2 separate regions of the Homo sapiens genome follow, and region 1 is linked to region 2. The links are contacts of gene promoters, found by promoter capture Hi-C in blood cells and fetal thymus (Javierre and others, 2016). All regions are on one chromosome and are shown on one strand. Each heading gives the region's core, a stretch centred on a gene start or on the middle of the fragment in contact. The rest is flanking DNA. Distances are from core to core; before and after follow the strand shown.

Region 1 (6,335 bases), core at 996-3,495, 110 kb before region 2:
GTCTAAGTCTGACAACACGACACTGTGTTAATTATTATAAATATATACTAAGTCTTTTTTTTTTTGAGACGGAGTCTTGCTCTGTTACCCAGGCTAGAGTGCAGTGGCTCGATCTTGGCTCACTGCAACCTTGCCTCCTGGGTTCAAGCGATTCTCCTGCCTCAGCCTCCTGAGTAGCTGGGACTACAGGAACGTGCCACCACGCCCAGTTAATTTTTTTGTACTTTTAGTAGAGACGGGGTTTCACCATGTTGGCCAGGATGGTCTCGATCTCTTGACCCTGTGATCTGTCCGCCTCAGCCTCCCAAAGTGCTGGCATTACAGGCATAAGCCACTGTGCCCTGCCGATATATACTAAGTCTTTTTTTGAGACAGAGTCTCGCTCTGTCACCCAGGCTGGAGTGCAGTGGCATGATCTCGGCTCACTGCAACCTCTACCTCCCGGGTTCAAGTGATTCTCATGCCTCAGCCTCCTGAGTAGTTGGGATTACAGGCACACACCACCTCGTCTGGCTAATTTTTGTATTTTTAGTATAGACGAGATTTTGCCATGTTGGCCAGGCTGGTCTTGAACTCCTGACCTCAGGTGATCCACCCGTCTCGGCCTTCCAAAGTGCTGGGATTATAGGCGTGAGCCACCATGCCCGGCTTATACTAAGTCTTAATAACAGTGGTGTGATTCCTCCAACTTCATTTTTTTTTCCAATATCATTCAGTGTTCCAATTCCTTTGCCTTTCCATTTCAATTTAAGACAAACTTGCCTTGTTGGAAGTTTGAAAGGAATTGCATTGAGTCTATAGATCAATTTGGGGAGACATGATATCTTTGCTATGTTGTGCCTACCAATTCATGAACTTGGTATGTCTCTCCATTATTCAGATCTTCTTGGTTTCTCTCATCACTGTACTGATGAGCGCCACCACGCCCAGCTAATTTTGTATTTTTAGTAGAGACGGGGTATCTCCATGTTTGTCAGGCTGGTCTCAAACTCCCAACCTCAGGTAATCCGCCTGCCTTGGCCTACCAAAGTGCTGGGATTACAGGTGTAAGCCACCGCACCCAGCCGAGGCTCTGTGTGTAACCCTCACACAGCATACAATTCAGTCAATGGACTAGTCTCACTCCTATCAATAGCCAGATATATGATACCCAAGACCTTCATCTGTCAAATTAGATAGTTGAAATCGGCTGGGCGCAGTGGCTCACACCTCTAATCCCAGCACTTTGGGAGGCCGAGGTGAGTGGATCACTTGAGGTCACGAGTTTCAGATCAGCCTGGCCAACATAGTGAAACCATGTCTCTAATAAAAATACAAAAAAAATTAGCCTGGTGTGGTGGCACGTGCCTGTAATCTCAGCTACTTTGGAGGCTGAGGCATGAGAATTGCTTCAACCTGGGAGGCAGAGGCTACAGTGAGCCGAGACTGCACCACTGCACTCCAGCCTGGGTGACAGAAGGAGACTCTGTCTCAAAAAAAAAAAAAAAAAAAAAGAAGAAGGTTGTTGGAATCTATGACTGCTAAGATATGTTCATTCCAGTACTTTCATTTGGTAAGTCAGTGCTTTATAGAAACCTACTGATGAAAAACTAGAAGGGTTAAACTTTTTAATGAGCCCACCAGGAACCTTCATTATCATGTCACTTCCCTACCTCTTCCAAAAAAGAGAATCATGATATATAAAGTTAACTTTCCTTAAAGAGTTTTGTCTAGGGAGAACAAGAGTTTTGCTCTCTAGGTTCAACTGTTGATTGCCAGGAGCATAAGAGAAGCTCTAACAGGAGCAACTCTGCAACAAGTGGGGTTGGGGGCAAGTTGAACTCCTAGTGGGGCATCACTAGTAAGGATATTTCTTTCTTTCTTTCTTTCTTTTTGAGACAGAGTCTTGCTCTGTCACCCAGGCTGGAGTGCAGTGGTGTGATCTCGGTTCACTGCAACCTCTGCCTCCTGGGTTCAAGCGATTCTCCTGCCTCAGCCTCCCAGGTAGCTGGGATTACAGGCATGTACCACCAGGCCCAGCTAATTTTTATATTTTTAGTAGAGATGGGGTTTCTTCATGTTGGCCAGGCTGGTCTCAAACTGCACTCCTGACCTCAGGTGGTCCACCTGTCTCAGCCTCCCAAAGTGCTGTGATTACAGGCGTGAGTCTCCACGTCCAGCCTTTAGTAAGGATATTTCTAATTTAAGGGGTAACTTTTTGTAAACATGTAATTTAAAAACAAACAAATTTGAATTTATAATCCTGGTGAGATGTTCAGATGGTTATCTAGAATAGTGCTTGTCAAATTATCTGTGATGAAGAGCAGTTTTTTCTTCTTTATGTCAATCCACTGCAGACCCATAGTTTTTTTTTTTTTTTTTGAGGCGGAGTCTCGCTCTGTCGCCCAGGCTGGAGTGCAGTGGCGAGATCTTGGCTCACTGCAAGCTCCCCCACGCACCATTCTTCCACCTCAGCCCCCCGAGTACCTGGGACTACAGGCGCCCACCACCATGCCCGGCTAACTTTTTGTATTTTTAGTAGAGATGGGGTTTCGCCGCGTTAGCCAGGATGGTCTCGACCTCCTGACCTCGTGATCCGCCCACCTCGGCCTCCCAAAGTGCTGGGATTACAGACGTGAGCCACCTCGCCCAGCCCGTGCAGACCCATAGTTTTATAAAATACAGTTAATTACTAGAAAAATTTTAAAAACATAAAGTCCAATTTTTTTATTACTAGAATCAACATACATGTAACTACTGTCACATTGTTATAAAATTTTTAAAATACTTTCAACTTCTGTATATATCTCTTTGTGTATAAGCAGCAGTTTGTAGGCTGCATCAGTTTTCTAGGGAACTGTTACTCAGAGATTAAACCATACCCTACAAAAATAAGTCATAATTTTTGACTGTTCAGGAAAATCCTCCAAATCCTAGGATATTACAGCTAAAATAGGGCCTGAAAATAATTTATAATGAGGTAACTGAGATTTAGGGAAGTTAAGTAATTTGTACAAGGCCAGTTAGTATTGGAACCAGGACTAGAAGCTAAGGGCTCTAGGTAGAATCATGGGCTTTCGTGGACGATTCAAATCCCAGTTCTGCAACTTAATAGCTATGTGACTTTAATTACTTAAGTGTTCTGGGTCTCTAATTTTATTACTTGTAAATGGGTATTAGATAATTTAAATAAATTACATTTAAAATAAATAATAATAGCAACTAACATTCACTGAGCGTATACTATGTGCCAGGCATGGTATTAAGCAATTTACACACTATCTCATTTGATGCATGTAAAACACTTGGTACAATGCATGGAATAAAGTGTATAATAAAGATAACTAAGATATTGTTCTAGTTTTTAGCTCTAGAGTCACAGCAGTCCAGTGTTCTCTATATTGTATACCAGTTCATTTCTTTCTTTTTTTTTTTTCTTTTTTTTTTTTTTTGAGACAAAGTCTCGCTCTGTCACCAGGCTAGAGTGCAGTGGAGTGATCTTGGCTCACTGCAACCTCCACCTCCCCGGTTCAAGTAATTCTCCTGGCTCAGCCTCCCGAGTAGCTGGGACTACAGGCACATGCCACCACACCCAGCTAATTTTTGTATTTTCTAGTAGAGATGGGATTTCACCATGTTGGCCAAGATGGTTTTGATCTCCTGACCTTGTGATCTGCCTGCCTCGGCCTCCCAAAGTGCTGGGATTACAGGCATGAGCCACTGCACCTGGCCACCAGTTCATTTCTTAAGATTTAAGTAAATATATATATAAAAATTCTACCTTTGACTCCTAAACCATAAAACAAACACAAGTTAAGGATAAATACTGAGATAACGGGTGGTTGATATTTACGGTACAATTTGGGATAGCACTTTTAATTTCTGAGGGCTTCAGCTTTCTCCAAGGTATCAGAGAAAGAACAGGCTTCCTTTTAATAAAATGAATTATTAAAGTACTCATTAACATTTATTACCTGCGCCATGCCAAGTGCTATGCACTTTACATACCTTCACTCTTCATAATTAACCCCATTTTGAAGATAAAAATGAGGCTTGGAAAGGATAACGAGATGTCCCCACCAGCTAAGATCATAGCACTAGCTAGTAGTGGAAACAGGAATCAAATCCAGGTCCATCCAACTCCAAAAGCTCTGCTCGTAGCCATCCGACTTTACTGCTTCCTACAAGGCTAGAACAGAAAGGTTTCTGGTGTCCTATCTCACGGTTCAGCCTGGCTGGGAACTGAGATTCAATTGTCTGGATCTTCTCCAGAAGAGTGAAAACTGCCTGAGTCCTTCAGGAGAAAAGTGCCATGATTCTGCTCATAGTAAGCAGGCTGAATAATTTCACAACCAAGGAGACATCTGACACCCCAGCCAAGCAGCCAAAATTCCCGCCCTGGAAGACTGTCAACCTCAAGGCACAAACAGTCCAGTAAACACAGAGTGCAGATTAGGTAGAGAGGTGCTCTGAAGGTGACTGGTCCATGTTCTAAGATGAGCCAGTCATCTGGGGGAAAAAGGGCACAAGGAGGGGAAATCTAACCCCCCATTGGAGAAAACACTTCGGATCCTTCCAGAATCAAATCCGGATCCAATTTCTGGACAGTCAGTGACAAATTACAACAAGAATTATTAAATTATTTCTGGAGAGGCTCATGAGTCACTTCAACCCAAAGCAAAGTGAAGCCCTTTGGAGATGTCTTGGTGGTGGTCTGCTCATACTGTACTCAATACGACTGGGCAGGGTGCTTCACTCCCCATATTATGACATTAAAACAGAAGTGTCAATTTGGCCCAATGTCTGTCTGAGAATCTGCAGATGTCCCACACCTCTTGTCTTCCCAAATGATGAGGTGACCTCTCCAAAATGGGGATGAATCTTGACTTTTTTTTTTTTTTTTGAGACGAAGTCTCGCTCTGTCACCCAGCCTGGAGTGCAATGGTGCAATTTTGGCTCACTGTAACCTCCGCCTCTCCGGTTCAAGCAATTCTCCTGCCACAGCCTCCCGAGTAGCTGGGACTACAGGCGCAAGCCACCACGCCTGGCTAATTTTTTGTATTTTCAGTAGAGACGGGGTTTCACCGTTATTAGCTAGGATGGTCTCGATCTCCTGACCTCGTGATGTGCCCGCCTCGGCCTCCCAAAGTGCTGGGATTACAGGGATGAACCACTGCGCCCAGCTGAATCTTGACATTATTTTCTCTTCTCATGTCAGAGCTGCTACCATCTCTGATAATCTATGTCAAAGGCCTCAACATGTGGCCTCAAGCACTGCCCTTGGACAAAACAGAATACTCTCCTAAGCTACAAGGGAACAGCCACCATCCTCCCAGGAGGCTGTGTTCTCCAGGCCGCAGCAGCCTTTTCTCATTTGGCCAGCATTGGGCTGGCACATTCCTGAGCCAAAATGCACACATAAGCTGCTTTCCCTGGTAGCAAAGCTCTTCACTCCTGAGTGACTCTTATCAGGGGCAGTTGGGCATTCTCAATTGGATTACGCTGACAAGGAAAAAGGCCTGCGGTATGTTATTTCAACACCATTTGGCTTCAGAAATGCCTGTCTCGACCTTTTTGCCCTCAGAGTCTACTTCTCTCTTCTTGCTTTCTAGAGGGTCACCAGCCTGCTCCCATGCATGTTCTTTACCCTGCAAATATTGGCCCATGTTCCTGGAGACAGAATGCCATCATTCACAAGATGGATCATGTATAACAGACTAATAAATCATAGCATGATAAAAAAAGAAATTAGTTCATTTACCCCTCTAACATTTCTGTATCCAGAGACAGACGACAAAAGCTTTTTGGTTTTAGGCTTTTCTGTCTGTATCTGTACATTCCATTTTAGGAGAAAGTGTTAGGTCTCATATGCTACTTTTCTGACTATGCTGTACACCCCAGGAATATATTTCTTGCAAAAGTCAAGATTGATAGTGATCTACAAAAATGTCTGATGTATGGTAAGCTCCGTAGGAAGAAGCTGTGTTCTTTTTGGTCACTAGAGGACATCAAGAGTAGTGGTCCAGGCCAGGTGTGGTGGCTTACACCTGTAATCCCAGCACTTTGGGAGGCTGAGGTGGGAGAATCACTTGAGCCCAGCAGTTCGAGACCAGCCTGGGCGACATAGTGAGACTTCAGCTGCACAAAATATGAAAAAATTAGCCAGGCATGCGCACCTGTGGTCCTGGCTACTCAGGAAGCTGAGGTGAGCCCTGATCATACCATTGCATTCTACCCTGAGCAACAGAGTGGAACCCTGTTTCAAAAAGAAAAAAAAAAAAAAGAGGGGTAGTGGTCCAAAGAATAATCAAAGCTAAACTTTGGCAAAGCCAGAAGCCTCTGGAATAACTGCCAAA
Region 2 (6,612 bases), core at 823-3,322:
CAATAATCCACCCTTCCCCCGGCTTGGCCAGGTTACTGTGTTCCAAGCTCTACCACCTCCCCACCTGTCCACAGGGGGTGGGTCAAAGCTCCTGAGATCCTGAAGCCAATCTGGTAGATCCAATCAGTAGTCTAGAGGAGACGAGGGCTGGAGAAAGATCAGGGAATGCAGGGGGATGGGACTGAAAGTTGAGTTAAGGAATGGGGTTCTTGGGAGGGGTTAGGAGCCTGGGAGGAGATGTGTAGAGGGATAGGGGAAGACTGAAGGAGTTTGGGGGAGAAAATATGGGGAAGTTATTGGAGGGTCTTGAGAGAGGGTGTTAGGAGGTGACACTATTAGAGGCTGGAGAAATTAGTTGCGAGTACAGACTCTACGAAGGCAAGAGGGACAAAGCAGAGACCACCAGGTAGGGGTCTAAAAGAGAAGGAAAACAGGATAATATAACAGAAGAGGGTGAAGGCTGGGAGGGGAACTAAAGCCGAGAATGAGATGGGGAGAGTGTTACAAGGCAACTTGGGGACAGGATGGAGGTTGATGCAATCGGGAAAGCTTCAAGGGATAGAATGGTGGTCTAAGATCTAGAGAAGAGGCAGGGAGTGGGATGGGGTCTTACCTGAAGATTGCAAGGCAGAAGGACCAGAGGATGAGAGGCCCTTGCAGGTTGAAGCCCTTGCGTTCCTTCATGTAGTTCTGCCCCACAGCGATGAGAACCAGGTAGATCAGGGCTATGGGGAATGAGGTTGCCCTGGCAAGCAGAAGGCAGAGGGATGGGCTCATGGGTGGGTGCTGATTAGAGAAATGCCCACTCATCTCTCCAGGTGAGTGCTCTGGGTTGGAGTCCCAGTTCTGCCACTTACTAGCTATGTGACATTGGAAAAACCAACTTAATTCTCTGAGCCTTGGCTTCCTCATTTGTAGAGCGCGAATACTACATCTCTCCTGGGGGTATTAACGTATACAAAGTATCTAGCACAGGGCAGGAGCTATGTCCAAGGTTTCTGTGATTATTGCTCTCTCAGTGGGGTTAGAGGTGGGTGACGGCTGTCTGGCCCGCGCCTAGAAGCAGCCCAGGGCTGTGGTGTAAGAAGTGTGGCAATAGCTTCTCCCTGGTTGGGGCTCCTAGAAGCATACCAGGGCTGTGGCGTAAGAAGAATGTGGCAATAGCTTCTCCCTGGCTGGGGTATGGCAAATTGGTTGGAGCATAAAGTCAGCCTCCAAAACCTCTGGGGAGCTTTAAGGCAAAGCCAGAGAGCTCTTCCTGGGGAAAGCTTGGAAGAGCTCTCTGACTTCGCCTCCTTCTCCACAGCAGGAACGGTGGAGCACCTGGGGAACGATGGGATAATTGTAAAGGGCAGGCTGTCCCCCGGGCCCTGCACTGTGCACACACGCGCGCACACACAGCCACAAAGGACGGGGAAGTCATCTAGTAAGGCTTCAGATCAACCTCACGCCTCCAAGACCCTTCTCACTACACGCTCTCTTTGACTTCTGTATATTTCCACGTTCTCCCTCATCCTCTTATTTCTGCTTGCTTGCTTTCAGCTCTAATCTCTTTGAGGTGCCACATACTACCTGCACCTCGGACAAAGGTAGTGTGAAGCCAGTACAAGGGAGTCCCATAACTCTGCTCTGTAAGAAAATCATTGTGGGCATTCAATGCCACCCCCTCGCGCCCCGGCCCCGGGGCCCTGGCATGGCCTTTCCCTCTCCCAAAGTCTCACCAATACTCCTCGAAAAAGGGCCTCATGTCCTTGGACAGCTCGAAGTTATAGGGCTGGAACAGCTGATTTACTTCATGTGAGACATTCATGGCTGTGACCATCTAGTTTTGCAGAAGTCAAGGTCCAAAGCTTGGAGGCGCTGGGTGAAAGGCTGGGGCTCCGAGGATGGCGTGAACCTCGGGGCGAGACGGAACAGAGCCGGGACAGAAGGAACTCCTGGGCAAAGGGAGGAGGGCGTCGAACCTAGGCATGTGCGCGGCGGCGCAGCCAGCTATCCCGGGCGCAGCCACTGCGATATATAACGCGGACTTGCAAAGCTGCCTGCCCGGGCTGGCGCGACCTCTTTCCTGCGCCCCGCCGCTATCCAATCTCGACCAAGATACGCCTCTGCTCCGCCCCTGGGACGCAGTCCGCATTCTGATTGGTCATACTCAAGGGCCCGCCTGCCAGGCGTTTCGCACACCCCGCCCCAAGTCCCGTCGTAGGCCATCGCCCGCCCACTTCCCCAGCCTTTTCTCCCGTAAAACGTCCACCCCATCCTGTGCGGCCTTGCGGGTTCCCTTGGAACTGTCAACCGTGGCCTTTGCCTCGGTTTGCTTTAATCTTGACCTGCTTAGCAGTGAAGAGAGAGGAAAGGTGTCCTTAGGCTTTGGTGCTCCCACCCAGAAATGGAGGCGTCAGTTTCCAGGCTCCCTGAGATCCTGGGAAACCCAGGCCTGTGATGAGCAAATACTAACCTGGGCAACGCAGAGCTTCTGTAGTCCCTTCCACCTCCTAGCTTCGAGTCTGCGGTTGTGAGTGGGTGGAAGGAGATGAATTTTAAGGAGTTTTATTGTTGAGGTTGTTGATGTTGATGTTTGGGTTGTTGAGGCTGTTGTGGTTTCTTTATAGTTTCCTGAATTCCTGAACTGCTCCAGACTGACAGTAATAACCATGGAGAGAGGAAATGGGGTCACCCTCTGGGCTTCTGGAATTATTGTCTTCAGGTTTCCTGGAGGCCTCTTAGGGTTTAGGGAGGGGGAGAGCCAGTGTATCTCCCCAAGGCCTGTTGTTTTCTCTCCCTAACCAAATCTACTTCTTTCTCGCCTGTGTAACCAGCCCCAAAGAAATAAATGTTCTAAAACTTTTAAAAGTTTTACTTGGCTGTCCCTTATTTCTTTCCTAGGTTTTATGAAAGCGAAGGAGAAATACAAGGCTTGAGGGCAGTTTGAGATAAGGTGGAAATTTGCAAAAAGTGCTAAGAAACATAGATATAAAATAATTAAAATCAAGATGTGGGTATAAATGGCTATGTGCAGTAAAGCTCTAGAGCCAGAGGATCCAAGTAGGAACCCCAGCTCTATTTCCTGAACCTCAGCCACTGTCTATGCGAGGGTGTAGTGGAAGTCCTATCAGTGCCATCTAAGTGACTCAAAAGTGCATCTCTTTGTCTCTGTACCTCATCACTTCTCACCTGGTCACGTTACCTGGTTGCACTGCCTCTTTCTCTAATACAGTGCTTCTGCTCTTCACTGCATTGCAATCAGAAAAGAGTTCCTATACCTGGCTGATTACCAGATTCCTGAGCCTCAACTGCAGAGATTCTGGTCCTATAGGTTGTCTCAGACTGTACTTGGAAAACCACTACTTTCTGTTTGCTCATCCAGAAAACAGCTCTGCTTTCCTGCTTAAAAACCTTCAGTGGTTCGGCCGGGCACGGTGGTTCACGCCTGTAATCCCAGCACCTTGGGAGGCCGAGGCGGGCAGATCATGAGGTCAGGAGATCGAGACCATCCTGGCTAACACCGTCAAACCCCGTCTCTACTAAAAAATACAAAAAATTAGCCGGGCGTGGTGGCAGGCGCCTGTAGTCCCAGCTACTCGGGAGGCTGAGGCAGGAGAATGGCGTGAACCTGGGAGGCAGAGCTTGCAGTGAGCAGAGATCGTGCCACTGCACTCCAGCCTGGGTGACAGAGTGAGACTCCGTCTCAAAAAAAAAAAAAAAAAAAAAAACCTTCAGTGGTTCCTGATGGCTCCATATATAGCCTGACAGCTAATCAAAAGGTGATCAATACATGTCTATGGATGAATGAATAAATAAAAGAATGAATATTACAAGAATAATGCCATCTAGGTCTTACAAGACCCAAGTTCAAGTCCCAGCACCCCCATTAATGAGCCATGTGATTTTAGGCAAGTTACCTAGCCTTTGTCACATTCTACTTCAGAAAAAAATGCATATAGTCATACTCGCCTGCTTATGTCACAAGGTTGTGATTAGTATGCAAGCCAGATAATGTAGATAAAATGATATTGTGGACTAGACACATGGAAATGGCAAGGTGAATCATTATGGGAGGTTTACAAGTGCATATGGAGAATATATACTCAGTCCTGGATTTCTCTGTGAAGATATTTAACATTGTCTTTCCCTGTGAGGTTTAATGGTGAGGCTTGGAGGAGGTGTATGTGGAAGAGGGAAAGAAGAACACTCGGGGCTGGGCACGGTGGCTCACGCCTGTAATCCCAGTACTGTAGGAAGCTGAGGTGGGGGGATTGCTTGAGCCCAGGAATTTGAGACCAGCCTGGGCAACATGGTGAAAATCCATCTCTACAAAAAGTACAAAAATTAGCTGGGCATGGTAGCGCCCACCTGTGGTCCCAGCTACTCAGGGACTGAGGAGGGAGGATCACTTGAGCCAGGGAGGTCAAGGCTGCAGTGAGCTGTGATCGTGCCACTGAGCTGTGATCACACCACTGCACTCCAGCCTGGGTGACAGAGTGAGACTCTGTCTCAAAAAAAAAAAAAAAAAGCTAGGTGCAGTGGCTCACGCCTGTTATCCCAGCACTTTGGGAGGCTGAGGTGGGCAGATCACCTGAGGTCAGGAGTTCAAGACCAGCCTGGCCCACATGGTGAAACCCCATCTCCACTAAAAATACAAAAATTAGCTAGGTGTAGTGGCGGATACCTGTAATTCCAGCTACTTGGCAGGCTGAGGCAGGGAGAATTGCTTGAATCTGGCAGGCGTGGGTTGCACTGAGCAGAGATTGTGTCACTGCACTCCAGCCTGGGCAACAGAGCGAGACTCTGTCTCAAAAAAGAAAAAAGAAGAGGAAAAATCTTCAGAAATTATATTCTAGAGGAAACATTCCTTGACCCTTGGACTTGGTCTGGTACCCTTATTTTATATAAACTGTTCTCAGAGCATGGTATTTCTTTTCTTCAGTGAGAGTTTATAATTAGTTGTTTTTGTGATTTCTTGATCAATGCCTGTTTTTCCTACTAGTTCTTGAGCTCCATGAATGCAGGGACTATGTCTATTTTTTAAAATTTTTTATTATGAGACAGAGTCTTGCTCTGTCGCCCAGGCTGGAGTGCAGTGGCCTGATCTTGGCTCACCGCAACCTCTGCCTCCTGAGTTCAAGCGATTCTCGTACCTCAGTCCCCTGAGTGCTGGGACTACAGATGTGTGCCACCACGCCTTGCTAATTTTTGTGCTTTTAGTAGAGACAGTTTTCGCCATGTTGGCCAGGCTAGTCTTGAACTCCTGACCTCAAGTGATCTGCCCACTTCAGCTTCCCAAAGTGCTGAGATTACAGACATGAGCCACTGCCGGAATATGTCTGTTTTTTTCATCATTCTCCTAACCCTGAGCATAACCCAGGTAATATTTGTTGCGCAAGTGATTGAATGGATGAAATCCTTGGCATGTAAACCTGAGTGACATTATTTATTCTCCAGGATAAATACTCCAAGCCTATCTTTTGTGTGGTCACTGGTTTTGTTTTGTTTTTTTTCCCCAGTAGCCCTCCTGAAAGCCTCAACATAGAGGAAGAAGCGCTAAGCATGGGATGGTGTGAGCAGATGAATAACTGAGCAGGCTTTGGAAGTTTATAGAACACCAATCACTTGTATTACCTGGTGCCAAGTAGCTGCCTTCTGTGTCTATGAGTTCTCAACCCAACTTCTTTCTCTCCCTATTTCCAACTGCCTGTTGGACATCTCTACCGGTATGTTCTGCTAGCATCCTTAGCAATACACACCCCAAACAGAATTTGTTATCTACCTCCAAAATAGGCTGATTTTTCCAGCCACTATTTATATAATTTTTCAGGCTAGAAATTGTGAGGTCAAGTTATATTCTTCTATAGGACACAAGGTCCTGTCATTTCTTCTGGAGGTGGCATGGTCATCAGAATGCCTATATTCAGATTTTATCTCTGCCACTTACTACCTAGGTAACCTTGGCGAAGACATCATCAAACATATCATGGCCTCAGCTTTCTCATCTGTACAATGGAGATAACTACTTCAGAAGGATGTTTATGAGGATCAAATGAAATAATATATGTTAAAGAGCATTGGCGGGGCATGATGGCTTATGCCTGTAATCCTAGCACTTTGGGAGGCCAAGGCAGGAGGATCACTTGAGGCCAGGAGTTCAAGACCAGTCTGGGCAACAGAGTGAGACTCTGTCTCAATTTAAAAATAAATAAATAAAGAGCATTATACAATGTAAAGAGTTGAGTAAGCATCAGTAATTATTTACAAAAAAAGCGACATTTTTACCTTCTTTTTTTGTTTGTTTGTTTGTTTTTTGCGATGGAGTCTCGCTCCTGTTGCACAGGCTGGAGTACAGTGGCGCGATCTCGGCTCACTGCAACCTCCACCTCCCGGCTTCAAGCGATTCTCCTTCCTCAGCCTCCAGAGTAGCTGGGATTACAGGCGTGCGACACCACGCCCGGCTAATTTTTGTATTTTTAGTAGAGACGGGGTTTTGCCATGTTGGCCAGGCTGATCTCGAACTCCCGACCTCAGTTGATCCACACGCCTCGGCCTCCCAAAGTTCTGGGATTACAGGCGTGAGCCACTGTGCCTGGCCTGAAATGTTGTTTTAAGTAGGTCAGATAA

Evidence for each region. Contacts are between HindIII fragments. The CHiCAGO score rates a contact against its expected background, and 5 or more counts as called.
Region 1: a contact is called between a fragment that was not itself captured here and the fragment with the promoter of ELOVL3 in region 2, in 6 of 17 cell types (megakaryocytes, endothelial precursors, activated CD4 T cells and 3 more). The highest score is 7.7, in megakaryocytes.

The regions. Positions count from the first base shown.
Region 1 is chr10:102,333,396-102,339,730 of GRCh38, reverse strand. All of the region lies in intron 3 of GBF1 (golgi brefeldin A resistant guanine nucleotide exchange factor 1), which reads right to left. Among named protein-coding and RNA genes, the nearest start is that of NFKB2, 59 kb to the left of the region's middle. The HindIII fragment of the contact is 7,072 bases long and covers 1-5,781 here.
Region 2 is chr10:102,221,759-102,228,370 of GRCh38, reverse strand. ELOVL3 (ELOVL fatty acid elongase 3) reads right to left here and starts at 2,072. Exons shown (of 4, transcript NM_152310.3): 1 at 1,722-2,072; 2 at 614-745. The coding sequence starts at 1,822. RefSeq lists a silencer at 2,041-2,090. The HindIII fragment of the contact is 5,656 bases long and covers 1,853-6,612 here.